Regions from separate parts of the Homo sapiens genome. Here regions 1, 2, 3 and 4 are each linked to region 5. The links are contacts of gene promoters, found by promoter capture Hi-C in blood cells and fetal thymus (Javierre and others, 2016). All regions are on one chromosome and are shown on one strand. The core of a region is centred on a gene start or on the middle of the fragment in contact, and the rest is flanking DNA. Distances in the headings are between cores, read along the strand shown. Region 1 holds the start of NNAT (neuronatin). Region 2 holds the start of PHF20 (PHD finger protein 20). Region 3 holds the start of RPN2 (ribophorin II). Region 4 holds the start of CNBD2 (cyclic nucleotide binding domain containing 2). Region 5 holds the start of TGIF2 (TGFB induced factor homeobox 2).

Region 1 (5,730 bases), core at 2,036-4,535, 950 kb after region 5:
ACACATGTATTTGTACACACACACACACAGGGCACACCAAAAAATATCCAAACATCTATCAAGGGGATCAAGGCCGTTACGAAACACACAGGTACTCTCCCACTCACTCAGCTGGGGACTGCTAGAACTACGTGAACACACCATACTTCAATGCTGCAGAGCATGCACGGGAGACACAATGAGGCCCCCTCCTTGGGACAGTTGAGAAAGGCAGGAGGAAGGGCAAAGGAAGTGAGGCTGGGCGGGAAAGCTTGAGCCCAGACACCCAGGTGAAAGAGCAACATCTATCTGTTGCTTCCTTTCTTAAAAATGAAGTGGAGAAAATACTGAAGATTTGTGGACAACTAACAGTCAAGACATGTTTCTGTCTAGCCTGCTGAACAAGGAAAGAAGGATGAAAAAGCGAGGCTCTCGGGCGTCAGCAATCTCTTCAAATTCGAGATAAGTGCAAAAATGAGCCCTGTCTTGGACAGGTACTCCCCAAAAAAGGAAAAGGGTAGAAGAGAAATAAAGGGAAACCAGAAGAGGGACTGAGGAGTCAGTAACATTCTGGGAAGGAAGGAGACCCTGACAAGGAGGGGTCACAGAGGTGACAATGAGACTGGCATTTTATCTGCCCCAGGTCACATTGGGGCAGCTGACCAGGATGGACCCAGACTCCTCACAGTAATGAGGCGAGAGGGGTGGTCATGCGGCCAGCCAGGACCTAGATGGGGACAGAACACACACAACCACAAGACCACCCACGACTATAGGACTTTACAATAAAAGCACCGGTCAGTGCCATTATTCACATTGTAAGGATAAAACATCACAGGCCAAAAAGGCGCCGTCAGGAATGTGACACCCGCGAGGCTGCGGGATTTGAAACTCCAATGCTTTATGACCTATGTCAATGCCTCCCCTCCCGTCTTCTGCTTCCTTGGAAAGCTAACAGGGCAGGCCGTTAGGTGCCCACAACGCCGGGATCATGCGCCGATTCTGGAAGCGGGGAATCGGAGCAGTGGTACAGGAAACAGTTTCCCCAGCAGCTATAGCAGATAAGGAACAGGGCTGCCAGGAAAACCAAGGCACAAATTGTGCAAGGCTTCCGTTCCAGGAGGAAGCTGAGCAGGTAGAAGCCCATGAACATGGAGTGGCTGAACCACAGGGCGGGGTTGAGGGGCTTGGGGATGAGGAGGACGGGCAGCAGCCACTGGAGGCAATACATGATCTCTGCCGGGCAGGGCCTTCACCAAGGCTGCCGGGCACCGCTGCAGGAACCGACCTAATGGGAGCCAGCGGGCGCAGGCGGCTGCCCTCCGCTTTCTTCAACCCTCACTCTCCAGGAGCTGAGCCGCTGTGCTCTCTGGCTGTCAGCCCGGGATCACCAAGGCAGCAGGGATCCTGAAGAGAAAAGTCAACACAACAGACAAACAGACAAAGAACAGACAGACAGACAAAAAAAAAAAAAAAAAAAGAAAAAAAAAAAAAAAACAGGAACAGAATGTATACTTATTTGGGAAAATGGATCATGGTTAACAACAGCAAATGTGAAATGCCCTTTCCTCCCTGCCCACCCGTGAAAGTTCTACTCCTCTCCAAGTCACTAATTCGGGAAGCTTCCTGGGATGTCTCCCCGGGGCTTCTCCTGGGGGATCGGGGAGAGGGCTCTTTGGCACGGTTTCACACAGTGGGCTGGCTTTGCCTGGGCCCTGCCCAGCAGAGATCATGTATCGCCTCCTGGGGCTGCAGCCCGTCCTCAAGGGGCCCAGACCTCACAATACCGCCCAGTGGTTGCCAAAGGACGACCAAGGGCTCCCTGCTGTGCCCCCACGTGGTAAGGACAGGGTTCTGTATCTAGCATCTCTCACAGCCATAGGTGCTCAGGCACTAAGTGCAGAGTTAAAGCTGTTAGCGGGGCACTGCCGGCCACCAGACCACAGGCAAAGGATCCTGAGGCAGCTACAGCCTCGAAATATTTTAAGATGGCAGCCTAGGCTAAGCTTGCCTTTTTCAAACAGCCCAGCGTCACTTTGCCAGAATCTGCCAACTTCTCCGAAAGTCAATGTAGAAAAAAAGTCACTATGCTACTTTGTCCAAACTGAACTCGTTTGGATCATTACACCTCCATCTGCTGCTGGCACTGTATAGAACCTGACCTCTGGGAGCTTTTAATGAAAATTAATTTTCTATCCACATAGGGGCAAATGCCAGTTGGTCCCTGGGCCAGGCAGCTTGCTGGAAAGAGGTGCTTTCGGCTGGCTACCGGTGCGCGGGGACCACACTCACAAACCGCATTCCGGTCTTCCCGCCCGAAAATCCGCGCTGTGCGAGGGACCCACAAGACTGGCGGTCTAAAAGGGACCCGCCTCACTTGGAAACGGGGCTGCGGTAGCCACAACCCTCCGGTAGCGGTAGCGTAACCCCGTTCGGTGATCCAGCCGCACAGCGCAACGGGTACAAAGAACCCCACTGGCTAAGGCCGACCTACCAGGGCTTGGGGGAGGGGAGCGGAAGACTGAGGTCGAAACGACCTGTCCAGCAGAAAACTATCCCCAAGCATATTCCAACCACTTCTCCGTAGAGCTCATTCCTTCCGTGCATACGAAGGGCGCCAATCCTTCCTGTATCCCTCCTACAGATACCGGGTGACTACTGCTTTTGCGCCCAAAGCGCAGTGCTCTGGCTCAGCTCCCTACAGTAGCGACCTCCACCGCAGATTCTCATCTCCTCGCTACCGTAAGAGAGATGTAAAGAATCAGACGGGTTACGCGCTCAGGCACCCTCATGAAGCAGAGGACCTGGGCTTAAAACTCATTCAGTATCAGGAAAAGAGCGCCGAGCACGGGCCTATTATGCCAAAGCTTCTGAAAGGGGCACCACGTTTTTTGCTCTATGGGGCAGATGACCCCTCCCTAATTTCGGTTTTCCATCCATCCCCAAGGTAGGCTTTGGAGTGGCACCGGAGACTGAGCTCAAATTTGCAGGCCAGGGACTGGGGAGAAGGGCGCCACACTAAGAGACCTGCACCCCCATTCTCGCCCTGTACTCTACCCAGAGTCGTGGTACCCCTCCATTTTAAAGCAAAATCCAAAAGCAAGCACGGCGGAATCTTCTGGAAGGGGGCTAAGATGGAACTCAGGAGGCGGGGGTCGGTATGGAAAGAGCAGATGGATTATTTTTTTCCTCTCCTGGCGAATGAGGAGCGCCCCCAGCCACCCCTCCTCATAAACACCCCCCAAGGCGCGCATGCGCACTTAGGTGGCGGGCGGGTACTTAAGGCGCGGCCACCGCGGCTGCGGCAGTGCGCCCAACAGCGGACTCCGAGACCAGCGGATCTCGGCAAACCCTCTTTCTCGACCACCCACCTACCATTCTTGGAACCATGGCGGCAGTGGCGGCGGCCTCGGCTGAACTGCTCATCATCGGCTGGTACATCTTCCGCGTGCTGCTGCAGGTAAGTCTGACGGGGTTTCGGGTGGGAGAGGGTTCCCAACTCGCGCCCCTAGAACCCGCAAGACTGCGTCGCGATTGCCGCTTCCCGGACCCGTCCTATTCCGATTGCCGCGATCCTTGCCTGCCCAAGTGCCGCTGCCGGCACCGCGCGCCCCCTGCCCATTCCCTGCGCCGTCCTCCTCGCGCTGACCCTCCCTAGTGCGCCCGCGCCTGCCAGGGAACAAAGACTCGGGGCGCGGCGGGCGACCGCTGCGGACGATCACCCAGGCATTTAGCGACCTACGCGGTAAGAAAAACCCGCTACACCCGGACTCGACCCCAGGAGGGAGGCGGGGCACTACTGTGTTGAAAGACTTTACAGCTCGCAGAGTGAAAATTTTCCACCTTAAAAAATTGCGCATTGCGGAGAAATTTTATTTAAAAAAACATATAGCGCTTGCGGGGGTGGAACAAAAAATAAGTTAGAAAAAGGCACTTCTCAGAAAAAATAAAAATTACTTCGCAAAAAAAAAAAACCCTACAACGAATTAGAGAAAAAGTAGTTCACAGGAAAACAGAAAAACGCGCATTGCAGGAAAAATAAATCGGAGAAAAGCACTTGGCAGAAAAAAATGCATTAGATTAAAAACGCACTGCAGAAAAAAATTAGACAAGGGAGCTAACGGAAAAAAATGGATCGGGCAAAAACGCTTTAAAGAAAAAAATTAGAGGAAAAAGCCCCTCGAGAGAAAAATAGAAGGGGAAAAAAAGCACTTCCAAAAAAGGACAATTGCTTTACAAAAAAAAAAATAATAATAAAAAAAATAAAAAAGAGGCAAAAGCGCTTGGTGTAAAAAGAGATAAATCAGAAGAAAGCGCTTTGCCCATAAAATCATTTACCCTAAAAGCTCCCTTTGCAGGAAGAATTCCCTGCTAAAGGAATCCTTTGCCAAAGGAATCGCATATTTCCTTCAAGGTGTTCCTGGAATGCTGCATTTACTGGGTAGGATTCGCTTTTCGAAATCCTCCAGGGACACAGCCCATTGCGAGAAGTGAGGTATACCTAAGTTGTGGGTCCAATCAGCTTGCCGCCATGCAGCTCTCAGCACAGTTGGAAAAGCTCCAGCTGCCCTGACTCGTGGACAAGCTGCGCCCGCGCCCGCCTCTCCAGCCTACGCTGGATGGGCGGGCGGGGCAGGGGGTGGGGCGGGGGTGGGCACGGCAGCACCACAGACATGCTGTGGGTGCTCTCCACTAAGGGTGGGTCCTGGGTTTCTCGTCGCAGGTGTTCAGGTACTCCCTGCAGAAGCTGGCATACACGGTGTCGCGGACCGGGCGGCAGGTGTTGGGGGAGCGCAGGCAGCGAGCCCCCAACTGAGGCCCCAGCTCCCAGCCCTGGGCGGCCGTATCATCAGGTGCTCCTGTGCATCTCGGCCAGCACGGGAGCCAGTGCCGCGCAGGAATGTGGGGTCCCCTGTGTTCCCTCGCCAGAGGAGCACTTGGCAAGGTCAGTGAGGGGCCAGTAGACCCCCGGAGAAGCAGTACCGACAATGACGAAGATACCAGATCCCTTCCCAACCCCTTTGCACCGGTCCCACTAAGGGGCAGGGTCGAGAGAGGAGGGGGGATAGGGGGAGCAGACCCCTGAGATCTGGGCATAGGCACCGCATTCTGATCTGGACAAAGTCGGGACAGCACCATCCCAGCCCCGAAGCCAGGGCCATGCCAGCAGGCCCCACCATGGAAATCAAAACACCGCACCAGCCAGCAGAATGGACATTCTGACATCGCCAGCCGACGCCCTGAATCTTGGTGCAGCACCAACCGCGTGCCTGTGTGGCGGGACTGGAGGGCACAGTTGAGGAAGGAGGGTGGTTAAGAAATACAGTGGGGCCCTCTCGCTGTCCCTTGCCCAGGGCACTTGCATTCCAGCCTCGCTGCATTTGCTCTCTCGATTCCCCTTTCCTCCTCACTGCCTCCCAAGCCCACCCTACTCCAAAATAATGTGTCACTTGATTTGGAACTATTCAAGCAGTAAAAGTAAATGAATCCCACCTTTACTAAAACACTTTCTCTGAACCCCCCTTGCCCCTCACTGATCTTGCTTTTCCCTGGTCTCATGCAGTTGTGGTCAATATTGTGGTAATCGCTAATTGTACTGATTGTTTAAGTGTGCATTAGTTGTGTCTCCCCAGCTAGATTGTAAGCTCCTGGAGGACAGGGACCACCTCTACAAAAAATAAAAAAAGTACCTCCCCTGTCTCGCACAGTGTCCCAGGACCCTGCGGTGCAGTAGAGGCGCACCAAAACTTT
Region 2 (6,191 bases), core at 318-2,817, 800 kb before region 5:
TGTCTCTAAAAAAAAAAAAAAAAAAACTCGGCCGGGCACGGTGGCTCACGCTTGTAATCGCAGTATTTTAGGAGGCCGAGGCGCGCGGATCATGAGGTCAGGAGTTCAAGACCAGCCTGGCCAAGATGGTGAAAACCCGTCTCTACTAAAAAAAATATAAAAAATTAGCTGGGCGTGGCGGCGTGCGCCTGTAATCCCAGCTACTTGGGAGGCTGAGGCAAAGAATTGCTTGAACCCGGGAGGCAGAGGTTGCAGTGAGCCAAGATCGCACCACTGCACTCCCGTCTGGGCTACAGAGCGAGACTCTATCTCAAAAAAAAAAAAAAAAAGTGGCCAAGTACGGTGTTAATTCCAGCACTCTGGGAGGCTGAGGTGGGTGGACTGCTTGAGCCCAGGAATTCAAGACCAGCCTGGGCAACATCGTGAAACTGCGTCTCTACAAAAAAATGCAAAAATTAGCCAGGTGCACACCTGTGGTTCCAGCTATCTGGGAGACTGAGGTGGGAGAATTGCTTGGGCCTAGGAGGTGGAGGTTATGAGGAGCCGAGACTGCGCCACTGCACTCCAGCCTGGGTGACACAGTGAGACCGTGTCTCAAAAAAAAAAAAAAATTAGCTAGGCATGGTGGCATGGGCCTGCAGTCCCAGCTACTCAGAAGGTTGAGCTGGGACCACAGGTGCGCACGTTCACGCCTGGCTAATTGTTGTATTTCTTGGAGAGACGGGGGTCTAGCTATGTTGCCCAGGCTGGTCTCGAACTCCTGAGCTCAAGTGATCTACCCACCTCAGCCTCTCATAGTGTTGGGATTACAGGCGTGAGCCACTGCTCCTGGTCTCATATTCTTTTGGGGTGGCTTCAACTCCGACCTTCGTCCCCAGAGAAAATACAGCTCCTTATCCTTAGCAGCAATTGGAAACCTTTCTAGGAGTTAATGATAAAGTGGGGGAGAAATGAGTGCAAAGGCTCTGAGATGAGAAGAACCTGGATTGTTAGCGGAGTTGAAGGACACTGAGAATGTGGGGGAGCTGGATTCGTGAGGATAAGAAAGCAGCAGGTCAGGTCCAGACTTTGAAGAGCCTGGTAGATAGTCTAGGTGAAGAGTTAGATCTTAATCCGGAGTAGGGAGGGAAACGAGCTTTGAGCAGGGGATGGCGTTTTGAAAAGACCTCTCTGCCGGTGTACGAAGAATGGATTAGAACGGCGAAGAGTAATAGGGTGGAAACCATCTTCATCTTGGAGAGAGATGGTGGTCGCTTCGATGGAGAAATGGGAAGCTTTGAGACGCATTTAGGTGGCAAAATTAACGGGTGATGGATAGCGTCCATTCCCCGGCTTCGGTGATCTCAGTGATTACGAGTGAGTGGGGACTTCGTGTTCCTGCTAGGGCGCGGGCCTGTTTCCCGCGCGTCAGGGTAGTGGGCGTGGCCTGCGCAGGCCGTTGCCACAGTGATCGGGCAGACGGGGCAGGGGGCGGGGCAGCTGGGACCTTACGTCACTCGGTGGTGGCGATGATGCGTGTGTGTGGGGGGCGGGGCATACGCTGGGCGCGTCCCGGGGGTCACGTGGTGCAGAGCACGCAGAGTCCTTCTGTCGGTTGGTCCTGGAGCGGCGCAGCCGGAGTGGGGCCGTGAGGTGAGCTCGCGGCCAGGCGAAGCCGGCCGGCCGGGCCGGGTTGGGCCGGGCCCGCGCTGCGCGCGCGCCGTGCGGGCGGGGACGGCGACGGACGCCACCGCTGCTTCGGTCCCCTGCCCGGCCCCGCTCCCCGCCTGGCCCCGCTCGCCCAGCCTGGAGGGAGGCCCTGGGACTGCTGCTGAGAGCGTGGCGGGCGTGCGAGCGGTGCCCAATCCCCGGGGCTACCCGCAAGAGTGGCGGCGGCTGCCGCCAATCAGCGCCGCCCGAGGGGGCTGGGCCGTGGGGTGCGGGCCCGGGGCGCGGAGCGGGCCGTGTTGGGGGTGCGGGTAAGCCCTAGGGCCCGAGCCTGAGCTGTGTGGGCACCTAGAGCCTCATCAGCAGCCTCTGCTATTGCCTTGCGCTTTGGGAATATGTTTTTTAAAATTGGCTTTTTTTATCCTATTCTGGGGAGCACATTCCTTTCTCAAGACCCCAAATATGGGAGTGTCCCTTTTCTCTATAGTTTTGAAAACTGGGCGGCACACCCCCTTTCTTAAGCTCTAGCTCTGGAATTTTATCTAAATTTCTAAAAGCCCTCCCCCCCCCAAATTTAGGGCGTACCCTCTTCCGTCAGCCCCCAAAGTGGGAGCACATTCCTTTTTTCGGGCCTCCAATTTGATTCTGCATTTCCGTTCCAATTTAGAGGTTCACCCTGTTATCGGGTCCTCAGATCTGGGGTCCATTAGCTAAAGTTTTGGGATACTTTCTTGTATCCCCTCTACTCCAAGGAAGAATTCCCCTTTTCCAGGTCCCAAATCTGACAGCATGCCTTCTGGAATTTCTTACATTTAGGGGCCACTTCCTTTCCTCAGCCCTTCAAACCTGAGGTTGGGCCGAAAACAATGTCCAAATTTTGAAGTTTATGGGTACTTATTTCCAGTTTCACAAATAAGGGAATTCACTGCCTTCTCCCGAGACTGTATTATTGGGGTTACACACTTTTCACGTGTTCCCCAAATCAAACTACCTTATTTCCTGAAGGAGACTCATTTTCATATCTGGGAGTATATTTGTTTCTTGTGCCCCCCAAATGTACGAGGTGAACCCCTTTTAGTTATACAACTCTCAGAGTGCAGCCACTTTCCAGATGCTTCTTAAATTTGGGGGGCACACCTTTTTGTGAGTCCTCTCATTTCCAGGTGGCGAGTGGTCTGTGGTTTTGAGCATGCCTTCCTACCCTGTTTAGCTTTTCTGTCATCCAAGACATTTTCATTCCTCAGTTTCCTTCCCTTTTTGGAGCCACACTCCCCTTGAGGTGCTTTCCCCAGTCTGGTCAGTGCACCCATTTCCTCTTCCTCTGGCGAGTGCGTATCTTTGTTCAGCACGGCACTTTTCTCTGTGCTTCTGCGGGCTTTTCTTCTGAGCACACTTCCCAGAGTCACACCTCCTGAATTCTCCTCTCCTCCCAGGGAAGGATTCCTCTCCTAAAGGGCTACCAGCACATTGTTTTTGATAGGCCTATCTTTTATCTTTCCGCTAGCAGGATCTCTTCTCTCTTGGCTTGCCCAATCCCCAAACATTTTTCTGGTTTCTGTCTTTCTTTGGAATTGTTCTGTTTACCTAGTGGCTATAAAGATTTTCCTTGTGCTGGAGGTGGCCTCAAGTCTAGGACTGCCTGGGCCCCCAGCGCTGGATTCAAAGTGGAAACCATTTCTTTGGTTAATCACAGGACTCTGAATCCTCCTGGTGGTTTACTTCTAGAAGACCTAAGATTCTGTTTAGGTGCATACTGTTTTCTCCTTTGCTTTATCTCCTTGTGCTGGAAAACAAAAACAAACAAAACTCTCAGATTTTTCCAGCACTGCTTCTAGCCCATAAACTTCTTCCCTATATTGGCTTTCTTACTATCTTTTATGAAGAAAAGATGTCGTTTGGAGGAATCCCTTGGATACTCTTTTTGTTCTTGTCCCTGGGGTGTCGGTGGGGAAATGGATATTTTTCTCTCCCAATCATCCTCTTGTCAATCTTCTTTTTTTTTTTTTGAGACAGAGTCTCGCTCTGTCGCCCAGGCTGGAGTGCAGTGGCGCGATCTCGGCTCAGTGCAAGCTCCGCCTCCCGGGTTCACGACATTCTCCTGCCTCAGCCTCCCGAGCAGCTGGGACTACAGGCACCCACCACACCGCGCCCGTCTAATTTTTTTGTTTTTAGTAGAGACGGGGTTTCACTGTGGTCTCGATCTCCTGACCTCGTGATCCACCCGCCTCCGCCTCCCAAAGTGCTGGGATTACAGGCGTGAGCCACCAAGCCCGGCCAACCTCTTGTCAATCTTTACCCCCAATCCTCACATTAAAATCTGCAAATATCTGGGACCTCCTATCTCTTAAGAGCCTCAATAGTTCTTTCTTTTGTGTTTCCTTCTGCCTTTACAGATCTTATTCAGGGCTTCTCAGCCTGAACCCCCAACCAGATTAATTTCTCCACAGCTGGAATTCCAAGTGCTTGGGGATAATGATACCTCTGACCTTTCTTCCTTTTGGGAAGTACTTGAGTGTGCAGCTGCATGAGGCCTCAGCAGGAGAGAGATTTTAGGTCCAAGAAGCTATACCAGTAGGACAAGGCAGGAAAATACTACACTTTCAGGATCAAGCCCCTCTGACTCTCATTTGGAAACTGGATGTTTGCTAAGCACCTGCTTCTTAAGGATGCCGAGGGATTTAATGATACTCCCAGAAACCTGGAGAGATTAATGGGGCCTATGGAGAAGTGCTCTGAACTCAGTGTTGGGACTTGAATAAAATTAACCATTGTCATGTTTTCAGAACAACTAAGCTGTTTTATATTTCATGTGCATGAAAGCCCTAGAACTAAGTTGTGTTATTTCCAGAAATGAAATAGATCCCACAGTTAGATGATGTGGCCATTAGGAAGTACCAAATTTATAAAAATCACTGGAGGTCTGTCTGAGCAGTACCTAATAAAATATAGTATACTGAAAGTGAACAGATACTTTGTCTCTTTCTTTGGCTGCTTGATACTTTATCTGTGTACTGCCGTACAGTGCACCCTTAAAGTATTCTACACCAGTGCTTCTCAAACTTGAATGTGCATGTAAGTCACCCAGGGGTCTTGTTGAAATGCTGATTCTGATTTGGTAGATCTAGGATGGGACCTGAATGCATTTCTGATTTGCAGGTGATGCTGATGTTACTGAACTACACTTTTAGTAGTGAGGTTTCATACACGAAGACAAAGTTTCTCTGTGAAAATAGGAAGGTGGTGGTTAGCCTTATATTTTTTTATTTTATCTTTATCCAGACACACATCCCTTAAAAGTTTGTACAAGGCCATAGTCCCCTTTATTAGTTATACTCAATTAGTTATTCTAGCACATAGCTTTTTAAATATTGGCCAAAACTGGCTGGGCACGGTGGCTCATGCTTGTAATCCCAGCACTTTGGGAGCTGAGGCGGGCAGATCACGAGGTCAGGAGTTCGAGACCAGTCTGGCTAACACAGTGAAACCCTGTCTCTACTAAAAATAGAAAAATTACCTGGGTGTGGTGGCAGGCACCTGTAATCCCAGCTACATGGGAGGCTGAGGCAGAATACTTGCTTGAACCCGGGAGGCGGAGGTTGCAGTGAGCCAAAATTGCACCACTGCACTCCAGCCTGGGCCACAGAGTGAGACTCTGTCTCCAAAAAAAAAAAAAAAAAAAAGGCCAAAACTTCTCCAGGAGTTTGGTTTCTGTGTGTATATATATATATTTTGGGTGGGGACAGGGTCTCATTCTGTCACCCAAGCTGGAGTGCAGTGGTGTGATCACGGCTTACTGCAGCCTCAACCTTCTGGGCTCAAGCGATCCTCCCCTCAGCCTCTTGAGTTTCAGGGACCACTGGCACGTGCCACCACACCTGGCTAATTTTAAATTTTTTGTAGAGATGAGATCTTGCCATTTTGCCCAGGTTGGTCTTGAACTTCTGGGCTCAAGCAGTCCTCCACCTTAGCTTCCCAAAGTGTTGGGATTATAGGTGTGAGCTGCCATGCCTGGCTATTGCCAAATTTAAATGGTTACATATTTCTTACTTGAATGTGAACATAATTATTGATATAGAATCATTCTAATAAATACTGCATAGCCAGCTTGTCTGTCTGGTTCCTCATCCTACCATGAGTAGGGAGTCTGTGATACCCCAAATCAGTGGGTCACAGGTGTTGGAATTTCCAAAGAGTCCTTCTTGGTTTTCTGGGTTCTGGAAATGGGCCAGGAAAAGCCAGGATAAAGCTATGTTCCCCGACCTCGAATGGAAGCTTCTGGCTTTCTCTAAATGGGTGCTCCAGAAAGACAAATGCTGGGGAGAAGATGATATTCTTTGATGGTGATCATGCTTTATGATGATCTTTCTCCTTTTGTACCCACATGTCTAATCTATTCTAAGTCTCAAGTGGGTTTTTCCTTTTTTCAAAAAATTTTTTTGGAGACAAAGACTACCTCTGAAAGTGTTTTTCCTTTCTAAGTGTGTTGGATCATCTGTACCTATTTCCCTGGCTGTCACCTGTCTGGCCCTCTTCCACGTGATCCT
Region 3 (5,564 bases), core at 2,786-5,285, 610 kb after region 5:
TGCTTGAGCTCAGGACTTCGAGACTAGCCTGGGCAACACGGTGAGACCTCATCTCTACAAAAAAGTAAAAAATTGGCCAGGAGCGGTGGCTCATACCTGTAATCCCAGCACTTTGGGAGGCTGAGGAGGGCGGATCATGAGTTCAGGAGATTGAGACCATCCTGGCTAACAGGGTGAAACCCCATCTCTACTAAAAAAAAAAAAAACAAAAAAATTAGCCGGGCACGGTGGCGGGCGCCTGTAGTCCCAGCTACTCGGGAGGCTGAGGCAGGAGAATGGCGTGAACCCGGGAGGTGGAGCTTGCAGTAAGCCGAGGTTGCACCACTGTACTCCAGCCCAGGCGACAGAGCGAGACTCCATCTCAAAAAAAAGAAAAAAAAAGTAAAAAATTAGCTAGGTGTGGTGGCATGTGCCTGTAGTCCTAGCTACTCAGGAGGCTGAGGCAAGATGATCCCTTAAGCCCAGGAGTTTAAGACTGCAGAGTTTAAGCTATGATGGCACCACTGCACTCCAGCTTGACTGACAGAGAGAACTTGTCTCTAGAAGAAACAAAAACACAACTTACGGAATTCATTTTTTAAAATTATTTATTATTTTTAATTTTTATTTTTTTTGACACAGAGTCTCACTTTGTCGCTCAGGCTGAAGTGCAGTGGTGCAATCTCAGCTCACTGCAACCTCTCTGCCTCCTGGGTTCACGTGATTCTCATGCCTCAGCCTTCTGAGTAGCTGGGATTACAGGTGCCTGCCACCACGCCCGGCTAATTTTTATATTTTTAGTAGAGACAGGGTTTCGTCATGTTGGCCAGGCTGGTCTCAAACTCCTGACCTCAGGTGATCTGCCCACTTTGGCCTCCCGAAGTGTGGGGATCACAGGCATGAGCCACGGCGCCCAGCCAATAAAACAATTTTGGAAGGACACCCCAAACCAATAAAGTTTGAACTCTGTCCTGTATGCATATATTTCTTTAATAAAAAATGAGTTCATTAAAAACAAAGAAACCCTCTAGGAGCAGAATGGTTGGGTTGTGTGGTAGATTGTGTAACTGACTTCTTAAGATGCTGCCTGGCCACGTGTTGTGTCTCACGCCTGTATTCCCATTGCCTTTGGGAGGCTAAGGCGAAAGGATTGCCTGATACCAAGAGTTTGAGACAAGCCTGGGTAACATAGCAAAATCCGATCTCTACAAAAAATTAGCTGGGGGTGGTGGCATGTGCCTGTAGTCCCAGTTACTCAGGAAGCCAAGGCAAGAGGGTCCTAGAGTCCAGGAGGTGAAGGCGGCAGTGAGCTATGATTCCATCACTGTATTCCAGCCTGAGCGACAGATGGAGACCTTGCCTCGTAAAAAACAACCACCGCCAGTGGCTCACGCCTGTAATCCCAGCACTTTGGGAGGCTGAGGTGAGTGGATCACTTGAGGTCAGGAGTTTGAGACCAGCCTGGCCAACATGGTGAAACCCCGTCTCTACTAAAAATACAAAAAAATTCAGCCAGGCAGTGTGGCGCGCGCCTGTAATCCCAGCTACTCGGGAGGCTGAGACACGAGAATCGCTTGAACCCAGGAGATGGAAGTTGCAGTGAACTGAGATTGTGCCATTGCACTCCAGCCTGGGTGACAGAGGGAGACTTTGTCTCAAAACAAACAAACAAACAACGAAGAAGCTGTCAATCTGTTTCCAAAATGGTCGTACCACTTTACATTTCCATCAGCAGGATATGAGAGATCCTGTTGCTCCACATCCTTGCCAACATTTGCTATTGTTGGTCTTTTTCTTTTTCATTAGTCAGGTGTGGTGGCTCCCATCTGTGGTCCACAGCTAGTCACTAGGACCACAGATGCGAGCCACCACACCTGGCTAATCAAAATTTTTTTTTTGTAGAGGCAGGTCTTGCTGTGTTGCCCAGGTGGGTCTCGAATTCCTGGACTCAAGTGATCCTCCTACCTCAGCCTCCCAAAAGCTCTGGGATTACAGACTGAGCCACCATTCCTGGCTGCATATGCTAAGTCTGTGGTGTAAATACTCCCATCATGGCCAAAATCAAGCTACCAATACTACCTTGGGAAGAGATGTTCAATGGCATACTGTCATATATTTCCACCACACAGTTACAACAGATATAAGCAACCACAAAAGCACACAAAACGTAAAATGTAGTGAAATAATTAGAAAATAATGAGTTTTGTTTTCAATATACTTTATTTCATCCTAAATTGATATAATTTTCTAAATGGCTGTATTTAACCAATTTGCAAAATTACTGCAAATTTAACAATGGACTCTCAAGATAGTATGAGACAGCTCCAGCACACCACTGGTTGGTTGTCTTATTCTTGAGCTGGGAGAATTCTTTATATATTCTACATCAGCACTGCCCAATGGAACTTTCTGCAATAATGAAGATGTCCTATAATTTTGAGTGGTCCAATCTGATATCCACTAGTTATCTGTGGCTACTGAGCACTTGAAATGTGGCTAGTACAAATGAGAGACTGAATTTTAAATTTTACTTAATTTTAATCCATTTAAATTCAAATTTAAATATCCACATAAGGCTAGTGGCTATCATAACAGACACAGAAAGAACTGACTCTCTCCCATGCGGGATAACATTTGGGACAATAATAACGTTAATAAGAGTTATATTGTGCATACTTTATATGTTCATAAAACTGTAGTTAAAAGCACAGATTCTGGAGTCAGCTGCCTAGGTTCAAATCTGTTTCCTTCTCTTTAAAATGGGATTAGCCTGTAATCTCAGCACTTTGGGAGGCTAAGGCCGAAGGATCCTTTGAGCCCGAGTTCCAGACCAGCCTGGGCAACAAAGCGAGACGCGGTATCTACCAAAAATAATTTTAAAGATTAGCTGGGCGTGGTGTCGCAAGGCAGCAGTCCCAGCTACTCCGGAGGCTGAGGCGGGAGGGAAGATTGCTTGAGCCCAGGATGTCGAGGCTGCAGTAAGCTGTGATCGCACCACTGCACTCCAGCCTGGGCGACAGAGCAAGATCCCGTATCAATAAAAAAGGAAAGAAAAGAAATAATGCTTGTAGAGCGTTCGGCACAGTGTCGGGTTATACTGTAAACATTCAGTAGTTGGCGCTAGTTATTAGAGCGGTGTTCCTGGATGAGCCACCTCCATGTTGAGCCTGTAAAACTGGCCTAATATGTTCTCTATGAGTCACTGCATTGCTCTGCAAATCAGATAAAACGTCACTCGTAGGTCAGTTATTAACAACCCCACTGATAATCTTTGGAAAAAACTGACATAATTTTCTTTTTCTTTTTTTTTTGGTGAGACGGAGATTTACTCGTTGCCCAGGCTGGAGTGCAATGGCGCGATCTTGGCTCACCGCATCCTCCGCCTCCCAGGTCCAAGCGATTCTCCTGCCTCAGGCTCCCGAGTAGCTGGGATTACAGGCATGTGTGACCACGCCCGGCTAATTTTGTATTTTTAGTAGAGACGGGGTTTCACCGTGTTGCCCAGGCTGATCTCGAACTCCTCACCTCAGGTAATCCGCCCGCCTCGGCCTCCCAAAGTTCTGGGATTACAGGCGTGAGCCACTGCGCCCGGCCAGAAACTGCCACAATTTTCTAAAGAGGAAAAAAAAATCCCTTCTAAGCTATCCCCTCCCGACGAGACCCTTCCTGTTCCTTTAAAATGGGCCGGGCAGCAGAAAGACGAGTGAGTGACAGCAGACAGGCCAATCAGAAGCGGCCCCGTCTCGGGCCCACCCCGAGGCCTGGCCCAACCGCGTCCCGGTAGCTCCCGGAATAGGAGCGTTGCGAGACGGTCGGTTCCAAGTGGGCCTGGGCGCGGGGGAGAGGCGGGTCTGTCCTCGGGAACTGCAAGGCCCTGTGAGCGGGAGGACTGGGATCCCGGCCGCGGCTGCTGGAAGCGTCGAAGCTCAGCGGGGCCGCGGACACTGACCTGTGCTTAGAACTCATCCTGGCCCGCAGAGCCTGCCGCGAGTCCCTGGCGTCCCCTGTGGCGGGCTCTTGGAGCCACTTTCCCGAGCGGAAGTCAGCCCGCGGCTCGGACTCCGGCGGGACCTGCTCGGAGGAATGGCGCCGCCGGGTGAGGAGTTGCGCGTGGCTTTGGGGAGAGGGCTGTCGCCCGCGGGAGGTTACTAGTCGCCGCTCGAGAGCCGGCCAGGCGGGATCCCCTTCCCCTGCGGGACAGGGGCATGGGCACAAGCTCTGGCTGGGGCGCTCTCGGATCGAGGGTCCGAAGGAGGGCTGCGAGCTGGTGGGAGTGCCCGCGACCTGGCGGGGTTGGTGCCTGGGGGAGGGGTGCAGCGCGGAGCTACGGGTCGCCCCGAGGCTCAGCCGTGGGGACCGCGGACGCGCTTAGCCTAGGTCTGGCCTCATTCATTTCACTCGCGCGGGCTTCTGGGCCAGGCGGCCTAAGGTTCTGGTCCCGGCGCTGCCCCTTACTCCGTGTGAGGTTTTGGGCAGATTGTCCTTCTTTGTGCTGTAGTTTCCCATTCAGTGAAAGGGGCAAAGAAAACCCTCACTTCTCTCTGGGAGCCTGGAGCATAAGTTCTCAAGTGACACTCTAGGTGCAAACTTGCAGTCGGCCACGTATTCATTGTGTAACCCAAAGCAGGTTACTTAACCCCTCTACACCTCAGTTTCTCATCTGTAAAATAAGTTAGTCAAATTAGTCACGTTATCTGCCTCGTTGAGTTGCTTTATTAAGTGAAATAATCTTCGTGCTTAGTTTAGAACAGTGCATGGCCCTAGGTAAGAACTAAGTTAACTGCATTGGAAGTTACTGAGTAGACGCTGTGCAGGGTGGAATTTCATGTAGCCTCATCGTAACTTTGGAAGCATGTACTCTTGTTACTACCATTTGACAGATGAGAAGTTGGAATCCCACGGAAGGGAACTTACTTGCCCAGGGTGACACATGAATGAGTCAGTGGCTCACCGTTTCATTATTTGAGAAGTTCAGGATAGTAAAGTGGTTAAAAGCAGACTTTGGATTCAAATTGCCTGAAGTTTGATTTTCAGTGATGTGTCCTAGGGCAGGTAACTACTTCTGAGCCTTACTTTCCTGGTCTGTGAAATGCAGAAAATAGCCACCTTGCTTAGATGTTGTGAGGATTTAATGATTTGGTGTGTGCAAAGCACAGCATAGCGTGGGCATACCTAACATATTAAGTGCTCAACTTTTAGTCAGAAAAGTTACTGCTCTCGTTAACATGGAGTGAGAAGATTAGGATTCTGACACAGGTGCTGTTTTAGGGGAATTTACGGTCTAGGTGGGAAAATGCTAGTCGCAGCCATTCACTAGATCTTCATATATTGGGTACCCGCCTGTGCACAAGGCATTGGGGATTCAGCATTAGTATCTTGACTCCGCTCTCTCTTAGGTCTTTCTGTCCATTAGCAGTTTCTGATAGGCTTTGACTTTGAATTCTAGCCAGACTAACTCTCATCACTTCTCATCATGTTCACTGCTGTTGCCCTGGTTTGGGCCACCATCATCTTCTGGCTTGGATTATGGCGGTAGTCTCCCAACTGGTGTCCCCTGCTCTGTCCTTGCACCTGCATGGTCTGTT
Region 4 (5,510 bases), core at 2,842-5,341, 610 kb before region 5:
ACCTGCCTCAGCCTCCCGAGTAGCTGGGACTACAGGCGCCTGCCACCACGCCCGGCTATTTTTTTTTTTTGTATTTTTAGTAGAGATGGGGTTTCACCATGTTAGCCAGGATGGTCTCGATCTCCTGACCTCGTGATCCACCCACCTCAGCCTCCCAAAGTGCTGGGATTATAGGCGTGAGCCACTGCACCCAACCACCTCTTCATATATCTTTTTTTTTTAAGAGACGGAGTCTCACTCTGTTGCCAGGCTGGAGTGCAGTGCCATGATCTCGACTCACTGCAACCTCTGCCTCCCAGGTTCAAACAATTCTCCTGCCTCAGCCTCCCAAGTAGCTGGGACTACAGGTTCCCGCTATAAAGCCCAGCTAATTTTTGTATTTTTAGTAGAGACAGGGTTTCATCATGTTGGCCAGGATGATCTCAATCTCTTGACCTCGTGATCTGTCCACCTTGGTCTCCCAAAGTGCTGGGATTACATACGTGAGCCACCATGCCCGGCCTCATATATCTTTCATAGCTTTATTATAGCAAGACTTTCTCTGAGGATTTTACTTCCCCACCATATTGTGAACTCCTGGTAAGCAGGGACCACATCTTATTCACCTTCATATGCTTTGTAAGCATTTGTTGTATAGCTTTTATAATCAGCAAAACAATAAGAATCTTCTCTCTCCCTCTCTCTCTTTTTTTTTTTTTTTTTGAGACGGAGTCTCATTCTGTCACCTAGGCTTGAGTGGTGCAATCTTGGCTCACTGCAACCTGCGCCTCCCAGGCTCAGATGATGCTCCCGCCTCAGCCTCCCGAGTAGCTGGGATTACAGGTGCATGCCACCACACTGGGCTAGTTTTTGTATTTTTAGTAGATACTGGGTTTCACCATGTTGGACGAGCTGGCCTTGAGCTCCTGACCTCAGGTGATCCACCCGCATCAGCCTCCCAAAGTGTTGGGATTGCAGGCATGAGCCACCGCGCTTGGCCGAATCTTCTCATAAATTGTTTGTGGAATTGAATCGAACTCCATTTTATACATTATGAAAATGAGGCCCCAAGTAGTTAAGTGACTTACCTAAGATCACATAGGAATAGGACCAGTGCTCTTTTTGGCATTCTACCCTGTAATAGTTACAGTTATAAAATCAGGAACTGTAAGAGAAATGAAACTTTCTTAGTTTCTAGAACTGACTTAAATGTGTGACTCTGAATCCCCAGCCCACCTCCTTGCAGATAATTGAATTTAGGATGTCTTCAGGTAAATTGAGATCCAATCCAGTAATTTTGAGTGGATATAATTTCAGGCTTATTGATTCATCTTGGGCCCATTCATAGCTCTCCAAACTTCCTGCTTCTTCTTCCCCAAAGCTGATCTAATTCCTAGAGAAATTGTACAACCACAGCTGGCAAGAGGTGAGGTTGGCAGTAAACATTTTTGGGGTCTCATCAGGTCGTACTGGCATCATCTGATGCCCCTTGTGAGCCTGGATACTTTCCTTGTCACTCTTGGATCCTCAGGCAGTTCAGAGGACTGACGGGACACCCTTCCTGCCTATAGCCATCTCCTACCATCTCTCTTGCTTTCTCCAGGCCCAGTTGTTTCTTTCAGAAGCCCCCTACACTTTTGAAGGGGATCCTCTTATATTTCCTTCCTTAAGACTAGGTTTGCAGTGGGGGAGGCAAAAACTCCATACCTCATCTCTCTGTCTCTCTTTCTAAAACTTTCTCTTCTTTCTCTCTCTGAATTCTTTACATCTTTTCTCATGGTATGGGGGAAAAACCAGTTTTGTCCCTTCTCACCTCTGTGTGTGATTACTGTCCCACCCCAAGAGTGGCCTTTGTCTTTCTTCTCAGCTGTCCAGCCATCTTTGCTGAACTCAGTGTCCTTCTGTCTACCTATCAGTTGGAGGAGAGTTAACAGATATACCCCACGGGATAGGAATGGCAGAGCAGGTGATGCTTGAAATCACAGTTTTCTACTGAGGATCCTGGTGCAAGAGCAAATTGAGATACTCAATTGTCATCTTTAATAGAAAAAAGCACTTTAGAGCCTATATTTTTCTATATCTTTAGAAGGACTCCAGAGATTTGAGTTCTAGTCACCAAGTTCCATTCAATATTTGACACTTGATTTGGGTGAGGTCTTCTGTTTTGCTGAGTTTTTTTTTTATTGTCCTGATTTAACCAGACTTATGGGACAGTACTATGCACCCACGTTCCAGGGCCTCCAAGTTCTAAGTCTCAGAGTGGTCCCTGGGCTAAGGTGCTGGATGAACCTACTCCCAGCCTAGAAGCCTCCCGCTGTAACAAAGTACACCCATTTTTCTATGAGATAGAGAATGAGTTATCTTTTTAAATCATCTTTTTCTTCTTTCTCTTTTGTGTTTTTCTTCTGTTCCCCACTTCCTACTTAGCTGATTAGAAATGCAGTTATAACCTTTTGCTTTCCCTTCACCAGACACTCCTAGAGCAAGTGTATCTGTGTGCTTACTTAAAAGCTCCAGAGTAGAAACCTCTCCCACCAGATTGCCTTGAGAGACAATAGTCAATTTACAACCAAAAGTATGCCTGCCAGGAAACTCTGCCCCACCTGGAGAGTATCTCGAGACAAGGCCACTTTACAACCTAGTTCTGCCCAAGATGGTGGCAGCTCGACCAGGCGGTAGATAAGGCACCAAAGTGAGTCATGGAGACTCCCACCTGCTCATTCCCTCCTCTGCATGCCATTTATGCCAATTCCCCCTCCCGCTTTTTTTTTTTTTTTTTTTTTTTTTTTTGAGACAGAGTCTTGCTCTGTCGTTCAGGCTGGAGTGCAGTGGCACAATCTTGGCTGACTGCAACCTCTGCCTCCCGGGTTCAAGTGATCCTCCCACCTCAGCCTCCCGAGTAGCTGGGATTATAGGTGCCCACCACCTCACCCGGCTAATTTTTTTGTATTTTTAGTAGGGATGGGGTTTCACCACATTGGCCAGGCTGGACCAGACCTTGCTTCTGTTAATTGGATGCTACAAATGGAGAGCAAGTGTACCTGACATTTAGCTACACTGCTTTCTTAAAAAAAAAAAAAAAAAAAAGGCCCTGGCCAGGAGTGGTGGTTTATGCCTGTAATCCCGGCACTTTGGGAGGCTGAGGTGGGTGGATCACTTGAGGTCAGGAGCTTGAGACCAGCCTGGGCAACGTGGTGAAAGCCTGTCTTTACTAAAAATACAAAAATCAGCCGGGCATGGTGGCACACGCCTGTAATCCTAGCTACTTGGGCGGCTGAGGCAGGAGAATCACTTGAATTTGGGAGGCAGAGGTTGCAGTGAGCTGAGATTGGGCCACTGCACTCCATCCTGGGAACAAAGTGAGACAGTGTCTCAAAAAACAAAAAAGCCCTATCTTTGCAGGACAGGTGAGCCCCCAAATTGAGACTTAGCTTAGGAGAGTTCTTGGCTTTGCCCAAGGAAGGAATTCAAGGGTGAGCCAGTGGTGTTAGACAGCAATCTTTTATTGAATAGTGCTTCTCCTTGTGGGGCAGGGCTAACTCATGGGCAATGAATCCGGAGTCGATACCCAGTGTATGAGATGTTGGCAACTGTATTTATGCTCATCTCTAATCCCTTCTCAGCCTTTTGGCTGAGATCAAGTGTAGTATACGCATTCCTACCCACTTTCAATCACATGCAAATTAAGGGGCAGGCTAATGCAAATTAAGGGGCAGGTTAATGCAAATTAAGGAGTGGGTTTTTAGAGTTTTCTAGGAAAGAGGTAGCAACTTCCTGGTCATTGCCAAGACATTTGTACACTGTCATGGCACTGGTAGGAGTGTCTTATGTTAATGAGGGATGGGGACAGCTAGGGGGTCCTAGATCCTGTTTTGGTCAGCAGGGTTGTGCCATTCTCCTGTCTCACCAGGACTCTGGCAGCCATTTAGCTACTTTGAGCCCCAGTCTCCTATGTATGGAGTTGAGTAAAAGTTTGGGTGGTTGTGAGGATTAGCTGAGATAATGCCTGTGAGTATCCCATAAATGTTAGACTCCCACATTCCAATCCCTGTGTCCCCTGCCTCCAGAATCTTTCATTGTGACCTTAGGAGATTCTGAGAATGATTTTTCTCAGAGCAGGGCTTCCAGTAGCTGATGGTATGGTAGGAGGAGTGGAGTGGAGCTCTTGCCTTGTTACTGAGGAAATCTATTTGTTTCTAGTATTACTGGATTTTTGGGGAAAAATTTGTAGTCCTCCCCTTGAAAGGCAAAGGGGCTAGTTGTGCCATTTGCCTGCACAGGAACCATGAGGAGACATATGGTAACTTATGCCTGGCAGCTCCTGAAGAAGGAACTGGTGAGGAGGGGCAAGGGCCCTGGGAGGGAAGAGCAGAAGACTGAACAGACAGGTGTTTTGAGGAAGGTCGATGCAGGTGTAGGAGGGGTCTTGGATGAATGGTGGCCATCCTGTACCTTTTGGAGTCACAGCATGGCACAAAGGAGGGACCCCTGCCCTGTAGCCTACCAGCCCCCCACACTGGGCAAGCCATAAGCCACACTCAGAGCCACTGAGTCCTGTTCTGTACCCACTCTTCCTGCTATTATGAGATCCAGAGAGAACGAGGGAGGATAGAGTCAGGGTAGCAACATTGAGTCATAGGTTAAGCTTGTGAACTCTGGAGCCAGACTACCTAGGTTTAAATCCCTATCACCTATTAGTCATGTGACCCCAGGCAAGTTGCTTGGTTTGCTGTGCCTTTATTTTCTCCTCTGTAAAGTGAGATGATAATACTAGTACCTACTGCATAAATTTACTGATTAAATGATTTACATATCAGAATAGTGCTTTGGATAATGCCTGACAATAGTAAATTGTACTCAGTAAGTATTAATTTTATTCATAAAGTACCTTTCCCCATATTTCCATAGATATCTAATTTTTAAGAAATAGAACATTACAGGTGTAGGGAAAGCTCTTTACCATCCCATGCCCCTTTATTTCTCTTTAATAGTAACCACTTTCCTGAAGTTGGTGTCACCCTTCCTGTTTATATTTTTATATATTATCACATGTGTATGTATCCATAAACAATATATAGTATGTGGCACACTGTTTAAAAATGATACCATAAATAGCATCATAGTTCTTTTTTCCCACTCAAAATCATTTCAGCTTTATCCACATTGACACACACAGACTTAGTGCTGTGTTCAATCCTGTGACTGAACCATAATGTATTGATCCCTTCGATCCCTACTAATGAACATTTGTTTTCAGCCATTCACTGTTACACACAATGTTGCCATGATTACCCTCATGGCTATCCCCTTGTACATGTATGTTTCTCTGAAGAGGACATATAAAGTACATACAATTCTTCCATTGTGAAGTACACACATCCTCAACTTTATATAATGTTGCCAAATTGCTCTTCAACATGGTTGTACCATGTTTCCCAGTTCCCAGTGATAAGTGCAAAATAGTATCATGTTATTACTTTAATTTCCATTTCCATTATTTCTAGCAATGTTAAAAATGGTTTCACAATTTG
Region 5 (5,755 bases), core at 846-3,345:
GAGGGGTATTTAGTTGTTTGCAATTTTCCCGAATGAACAGTTCTGCAAAGAACAATCTTCTATAAGCATTTATCTTTGTTGTACAGCTACTTCAAAAGACAGATTCCTAGAAGTGGAATTACTGTCTTAGAGAATCTACACATTTTAAATTCTGATACTTACTAGTTCAGAAACTTGACACGGTAATTCTCAAACTCTAATTGCACTTAGGCTTTATCTGTGAAGCTTGCTTACGTGCAAAATCTGACCGGCTACCAGCCTCCCTCCACCACTACCCCGTCCTCCAGGAGAGAGGAGGGGCTCCAGGTCTTTGTTATGCAGCTCTCAGGTGGAGGAGGAGGCAGCACTCCCCCGCTTCCATTTTCCCAACCACATCTAGCACCAGACTTGGGAAACACTCGTCTAAGGGGCTGCTGCAGGCACAATTTACGGTGCGGTCTCTTCCTCTAGCCCAGGCCCCCAGTGGCTTCCCCAGAAAGGGCAGAATGTGGCTCTTACGCATACAGGAGAAAAACGCCTAGTGCGGAGTTCAAGCTCAGCAGCCACTACCAGAGCCCCCTCTCCAGGCTCACCTGGTCGCACCCATTTCCCCCTGGGGCTCCCCTCTTCTGAAGGTCCCTGTCCCATACATTTCCTAGAGGCCAAGGCCCATTGGTTTTACATTTCTTACCTAAGGCAACCCAGACGTGGCTTTTTCTTTCACAGGGCCGTGGGGGGAGCACCACTTCCCCGGCCAAAAAAATTGTTTCTGACCCACACTCTGGGCCTTATTTTCCCTGTCTGTGAAATGGAGAGCAACAGGCAGTGCCACTGACATTTCACCCGCTGCCGTGAGGAGGTTTTTAACATTTGCAGGAAGTCTGGCTTCTATGGGGTGTCCAGGTGAAACCTTAACAATCTTTAATCAGCATTCTGATTGGCTTAAGGCTTGTTTGGAAAAAATTAAGAGTTTTGTTCCTAGAGTTCTCCATTGCTAAAGGGTAATTAAGTCCAAAAGCTGTTTTCAAAGCGATTTCCAAGCTCAAGGGCCCTAGATATCTGGACCTAGCCGTGTCCGGGTACAGGGCTGGGGGGCGTGGGGGGATGCCCTAAGAGGCTGGTTAACAGAAATATCACAGTATGTGGTACCCACAGCAGAGAGCAGGGAAGAATGTACTGACTGGGGTGGGGGAGGCCAAGGAAAACCTTCTGGAGTAGGGTGTAACTGGCAGAAGAGGAAAAAGAAACCAGACAGGAACTCCGGGAGCTCCTGGACTGATCGTTTAAGGCCGGGCACAAGGGGTAAGGGATCAGGCTTCACTATCGACCGACCTGGGCTGAATGATACCGGTTGACTGTGTGACAAAAGCAAATCAAGAACCTCTCTGCGGCTCATGAGTAAGCCAGAGACTTACATAGGACAACACATACCCTATCACCCGAGGATGAGACGGGATGACACACACGAAGTGCCCCGCACAGCGTCGTTGTAAAGCGTTGGCTGTTTTCACCTCTGGCCGCCCCCTGTGAGCCCGATCATGTGCTTTTTGGGCTTAGGTCGGAGGCGGCCTCCCAGATTCTACAGGCCATTGAGGTCGTAACAAGCGTCTCCATCAGAGCCTAGTCCTTAACTAGCTGCGGGTAAGTGCCCGGACTAAGTGGCCTCAGTTTCCCCTCGAAGCAACGGGACCAATCGCACCGCCGGCAGGACATCTTGTGCGGGGCGCGAAGTGACAAAAGTCAGGATTTGCAGAAGTTCCCACTCGGTAACGACCCCCACCCCGGCAAGGAGCACAGTAGGCGCTCCGGAAACGCCCTCCACGAGGAGGGCCGGGCCACTTCCTGCCCCCGAGCGGGCTCTCCCCGGCGGAGGCTCCCACCGCCGCTATGGGTAGGCCATGCAGCATTCCTGAGGGCGGGGTGGGCGCAGGAAGAAGGTGCCCGCGGCCCCGCCCCCTCCGGGCGCGCTGGGCGGGGCGAAGCCCCTCGGCGCCGACGGCCCGCCCCGCGGGGGGTGGGCGCAGCTCGTCGCGCTCCGCACAAAGTTTGTTTTCTCCCTCCGGGCGGGTGGGGGAGGGCGCAGAGGGCGCGGGGGGAGGAGAGGGGATCTGACGTCAGGCCGCGAGGTGCTTTCCAGCCGCGAGCTGTCAGGCCGAGTGTCAGGCCGGGCAGGTACGCGGCGCGCGCCCCCGGCGCCCCCCGCTCCCCGCCGGGACGCCCCGCGCCGAGCCGGAGGCCGCGTGGACCCGAAAGCCGCTGGGAAAAGTCAGTGCAGGGAGCAGCAGAGGGCCAGATGGGGGTGGGGGCGCGCGGACAACTTGGAAAGTTTCTTTTTCTCGGCCGGACGGGGAGGGGGCGTCGTCCTGGCGCGTGCGGTAGGGGGTGTGTGAGCTCGGGGGTGTTTGTGAGTCCCGACGGCCCCCGGGGGGTGTTTGTGAGTCCCGACGGCGCTGCGCTCCGGGGGCCGGTGGGGGACTGTTCCAGCCCCCGGGAGGAAGCCCGCTTGGGGCCCTGGTGGGGGGCCCAGCTTCATAGGATCCCACCCCAGGAGAGGGCCGATCCTGCACCGGACCTGAGTGAGCGCGCGGGGGGACGGATTTGTTTGGTTTCAAAAGTGCACGTTGCTAACCGCCAGCAGGGCCCCCCCGCCGCCGAGCCGGACAGGGGGCGGCCGAGAGTGACAGCTGGGGGTGGGGGCCGCGGGAAGGGCCCGGAGCGGGGGGGCCCTGGGGAGCCCGCGCGAGTTCCCCTTTCCTTTGGAACAAAGGAAAGTCTGTCTCCGAGGCATCTGTCACTCCCAGGCTGGCCAAGGAAGCGGGGCGCGTGGGGCCGGCGCCCCGGAGAAAGTTTGTTCGCGCCGGGACCCTCGGGCAGGCCGAAGGTGATCCAAGCCTCCCGCGGGAGAAGCGCGTAGTCTCCGGGGCAGGGGGCGGCCAACATGGAGTCTGGGCGCAGGGCTGGGGGGGGGGGGGCGGCGCGGAGGTGGGAGCCCAGCCCCCTCCCCTCCCTTCCCCTCCCCTCCCCCTCCGGGCCCAGTTCGGAGCACAAAGCCGAGCGCGCACGCTCCGCCGTCCCCGCGCCCCGAAGAGTCGGCCAGCCCCGAACTGCCGGAGTAGGGGTGGGAACCAAACTTTTTCCTGCCCCGGGACAGACACGTGAGTTTTCTTTCTTCCAGAGCCCCCGTCCCACCGGGATGGCGGGCCCGCGCGGGAGCTGGTGCGCGGAGTCGGCCCGGGGTGTGGGGACTGTGGGGTGCAAGCGCCCCGAGCGCCGGACGATTCCTCGCCGACCCAGGAGCCATGTGCTCCGACTCGGTCTGGGCCGCGGGGGAGGTTGCGCGCTTTGTCTGAACTGCTGGGAATGCGGGCGTGAGTGCGCGGCCCGGGGGAGTGTCGGGACCAGCTAGGGGAGTTGTCAGAAAGTTCGTGCGGGAGTGGCTGCAGGTGGCGTCGTGGGAGTCTGTAGGAGGGTGTACGGGATGTTGTGTCGAGGGGTTGCTGCCACAGGTCACTGAGGGTAGAACTGATTGTTAGTGTGATGACGCCTGGAGTTTTCCCTGTCGGAGAGATCGGGGGTGGCCGGGTCGGTTGGAGTTCGTGGGTGGGCGGGTACAGAAGTTGGGCTAGTTGTGTGGGTCACAGTTGTTCGTGCTAGGCCTGGGGTCTGTAAGCTGTGCGTGTGCGTGCTGTATGCGTCGGTGAAAACCCTAGGGTTTGTAAGGCTTGAGCGATGGGTCCGGGCCAGTTATCCTAGCGCTGTTGGTTAATTGCCTGGCGTGAGTGTGTCTGGGTGCGGTGTGGGGTGCATATGTGGGAAGCCTCCCAGACTACAGATGGCCCTGTGTGGCGGAACACCGAGGTGGAGAAGTTTGTGTAGACTGAGGGGTCATTCCCCAGGGCCCACCCGGGGAACCCTGCAGACAGACTTGGCTGGCAGCCAGGGTGGAATTTGTACAGATAACCTTGAGTACTTCTCACAGCCGGCCAGGGCTGCATCACTGAGCCCAGATCCCAGCTGCCCTGGCCACCTAGAAATGGCTGTCTGACCTCAGAAAGCAGCCTGCAGTGGTGCTCTCTGAGGAGTGGCACGTCTAACCAGTGCCTGTCTCACCTCCAGGTGGCCTGACTGAAAGGGTAGACCCTTCCCTCGAAAGCCTGGCCTAGCCAGCCCAGAGATCTGGGCTCGGGTCCAAGAAGAGGAAACAAAACCTGGGAGATGCCAGAGTCTGTTGGCCGGCCTGCTGGGGAGCTGTTAAAAGGCTGAGAAGGGAGGAGCCTTGAGATCCTGGCATCAGCCTGGCCTAGAACTTTTGCTTTTAAAATGAAAATCTGGCTGGGCGGGGTGGCTCACACCTGTAATCCCAGATCTTTGGGAGGCCGAGGCGGGCAGATCACCTGAGGTCAGGAGTTCAAGACTAGCCTGGCCAACATGGCAAAACCCTGTCTCTACTAAAAAAAAAAAAATAGCTAGATGTGGTGGCACACACCTGTAATCCCAGCTGTTCGGGAGGCTGAGGCAGGAGAATTGCTTGAACCTGGGAGATGGAGATTGCAGTGAGCCAAGATTGCGCCACTGCACTCCAGCCTAGGCTACAGAGCGAGACTCCATCTCAAAAAAAAAAAAAGAAAGAAAGAAAGAAAGAAAATCTTTGTTGCACGTGTGAAACAGAACTTTGTCCAGGGACTGAGCAGCTGAGTTGGGTTATCTAGGGAAAATCCTTCCTTCATTTGACAGGTGAAGAGGGGACTCAAGCCCAGAAAGGGGAGGATCCTTGTCCAAGTTACAGTGCCAAGTGGAGGGTGGGCCTTGCTCATTCACCTGGATTTTGAGTGGTTGAGTCTAGGACCAGGCTAAAGGGGCCTGACAAAGGAGAATGTCCAAGAAGCAACCAGTAGAGAGATGACTCACCTCTCTCACTGCAAGGTACACAGTAGGTGCTCCTTAAATATTACTTGGACTGCTGCAGGATCATGGTGATCTGTAGTTTCCAGAGTTCTCACTGGCCCTTGGGAGACCTAGGAGGCAAGACAGTATACAGCTCACAAGAGGGGGTGGGGAGAGGCCTGGTCCAAATCCGACTTCACTATCCTAACCTGGGGGTGGGATTTTTTTCCTTTACAGCTTTATTGAGATATAACTCACATACCATGCAATTCACCCATTAAAGTATACTCATCAGCAGGTTTGGTATGTTTGCAACCATCACTATAGTCAATTTTAGGACTTTTTTGCGGGGGGATAGGGGGACAGGGTCTTGCTCTGCCTCTCAGATGGGAGGGCAGTAGTGTGATCTCATCTCATTGCAACCTCTGCCTCCGGGCTCAAGCGATTCTTCCACCTCAGCCCCCAGAGTAGCTGGGACCACAGACATGCATTACCGTGCTCAACTAATTTTTGTATTTTTTGTAGAGATGGGGTTTCACCGTGTTGCCCAGGCTGGTCTTGAACTACTGAGCTCAAGCGATCCACCTGCCTTGGCCTCCCAAAGTGCCAGGAGTATAGGTGTGAGCCACAGCACGTGGCATTTTTTTTTTATTATTTTATTTTTGAAAACAGGTTTTTAATTATGTCGTCCAGGTTGACATGCACTGGTGCGATCATAGCTCACTACAGCCTTGAACTCCTGGGTTCAAGGGATCCTCTCACCTCAGCCTCTCAGAATAGCTGGGACTACTGGCACACCATCACACTGGGCTAATTTTTATTTTATTTTATTTTTTTATTTTTTTCTTTTGTTGAGACAGGGAATCACTCTGTCACCCAGGCTGGAGTGCAA

The links. Contacts are between HindIII fragments. The CHiCAGO score rates a contact against its expected background, and 5 or more counts as called.
Region 1: the fragment with the promoter of NNAT here is called in contact with the fragment with the promoter of TGIF2 in region 5 in 1 of 17 cell types (neutrophils); the score reaches 5.8 in neutrophils.
Region 2: a contact is called between the fragment with the promoter of PHF20 here and the fragment with the promoter of TGIF2 in region 5, in 2 of 17 cell types (M2 macrophages and non-activated CD4 T cells). The highest score is 5.9, in M2 macrophages.
Region 3: a contact is called between the fragment with the promoter of RPN2 here and the fragment with the promoter of TGIF2 in region 5, in 2 of 17 cell types (monocytes and non-activated CD4 T cells). The highest score is 7.6, in monocytes.
Region 4: a contact is called between the fragment with the promoter of CNBD2 here and the fragment with the promoter of TGIF2 in region 5, in 5 of 17 cell types (fetal thymus, total CD4 T cells, monocytes and 2 more). The highest score is 6.6, in fetal thymus.

Annotation. Positions count from the first base shown.
Region 1 is chr20:37,517,965-37,523,694 of GRCh38, forward strand. NNAT (neuronatin) reads left to right here and starts at 3,286. Exons shown (of 3, transcript NM_005386.4): 1 at 3,286-3,439; 2 at 4,394-4,474; 3 at 4,703-5,726. The coding sequence starts at 3,368. The coding sequence ends at 4,795. It overlaps BLCAP (BLCAP apoptosis inducing factor), which reads right to left. Exons shown (of 2, transcript NM_006698.4): 2 at 1-1,386. The coding sequence starts at 1,210. The coding sequence ends at 947. RefSeq lists enhancers at 631-1,494, 1,495-2,358. The HindIII fragment of the contact is 15,256 bases long and covers 2,845-5,730 here.
Region 2 is chr20:35,770,448-35,776,638 of GRCh38, forward strand. It overlaps PHF20 (PHD finger protein 20), which reads left to right and starts at 1,568. Exons shown (of 18, transcript NM_016436.5): 1 at 1,568-1,632. RefSeq lists silencers at 1,636-2,015, 3,020-3,314. The HindIII fragment of the contact is 4,645 bases long and covers 1,273-5,917 here.
Region 3 is chr20:37,175,295-37,180,858 of GRCh38, forward strand. It overlaps RPN2 (ribophorin II), which reads left to right and starts at 4,036. Exons shown (of 17, transcript NM_002951.5): 1 at 4,036-4,075. The coding sequence starts at 4,063. MROH8 (maestro heat like repeat family member 8) reads right to left here and starts at 4,254. Exons shown (of 25, transcript NM_152503.8): 1 at 4,095-4,254; 2 at 3,929-4,093. The coding sequence starts at 4,186. RefSeq lists enhancers at 3,594-4,153, 3,662-3,741, 4,092-4,141, 4,154-4,711 and a silencer at 4,262-4,311. The HindIII fragment of the contact is 7,782 bases long and covers 1-5,564 here.
Region 4 is chr20:35,964,499-35,970,008 of GRCh38, forward strand. It overlaps CNBD2 (cyclic nucleotide binding domain containing 2), which reads left to right and starts at 4,092. Exons shown (of 12, transcript NM_001365709.1): 1 at 4,092-4,315. The coding sequence starts at 4,265. It also overlaps the pseudogene LOC124904982. The HindIII fragment of the contact is 7,355 bases long and covers 1-4,622 here.
Region 5 is chr20:36,571,502-36,577,256 of GRCh38, forward strand. It overlaps TGIF2 (TGFB induced factor homeobox 2), which reads left to right and starts at 2,096. Exons shown (of 3, transcript NM_021809.7): 1 at 2,096-2,244. It overlaps TGIF2-RAB5IF (TGIF2-RAB5IF readthrough), which reads left to right and starts at 3,014. Exons shown (of 5, transcript NM_001199535.2): 1 at 3,014-3,134. It overlaps DLGAP4-AS1 (DLGAP4 antisense RNA 1), which reads right to left and starts at 1,774. Exons shown (of 5, transcript NR_109939.1): 1 at 1,411-1,774; 2 at 1-42. RefSeq lists enhancers at 42-594, 1,213-1,272 and silencers at 1,773-2,092, 2,123-2,212, 2,283-2,452. The HindIII fragment of the contact is 13,842 bases long and covers 224-5,755 here.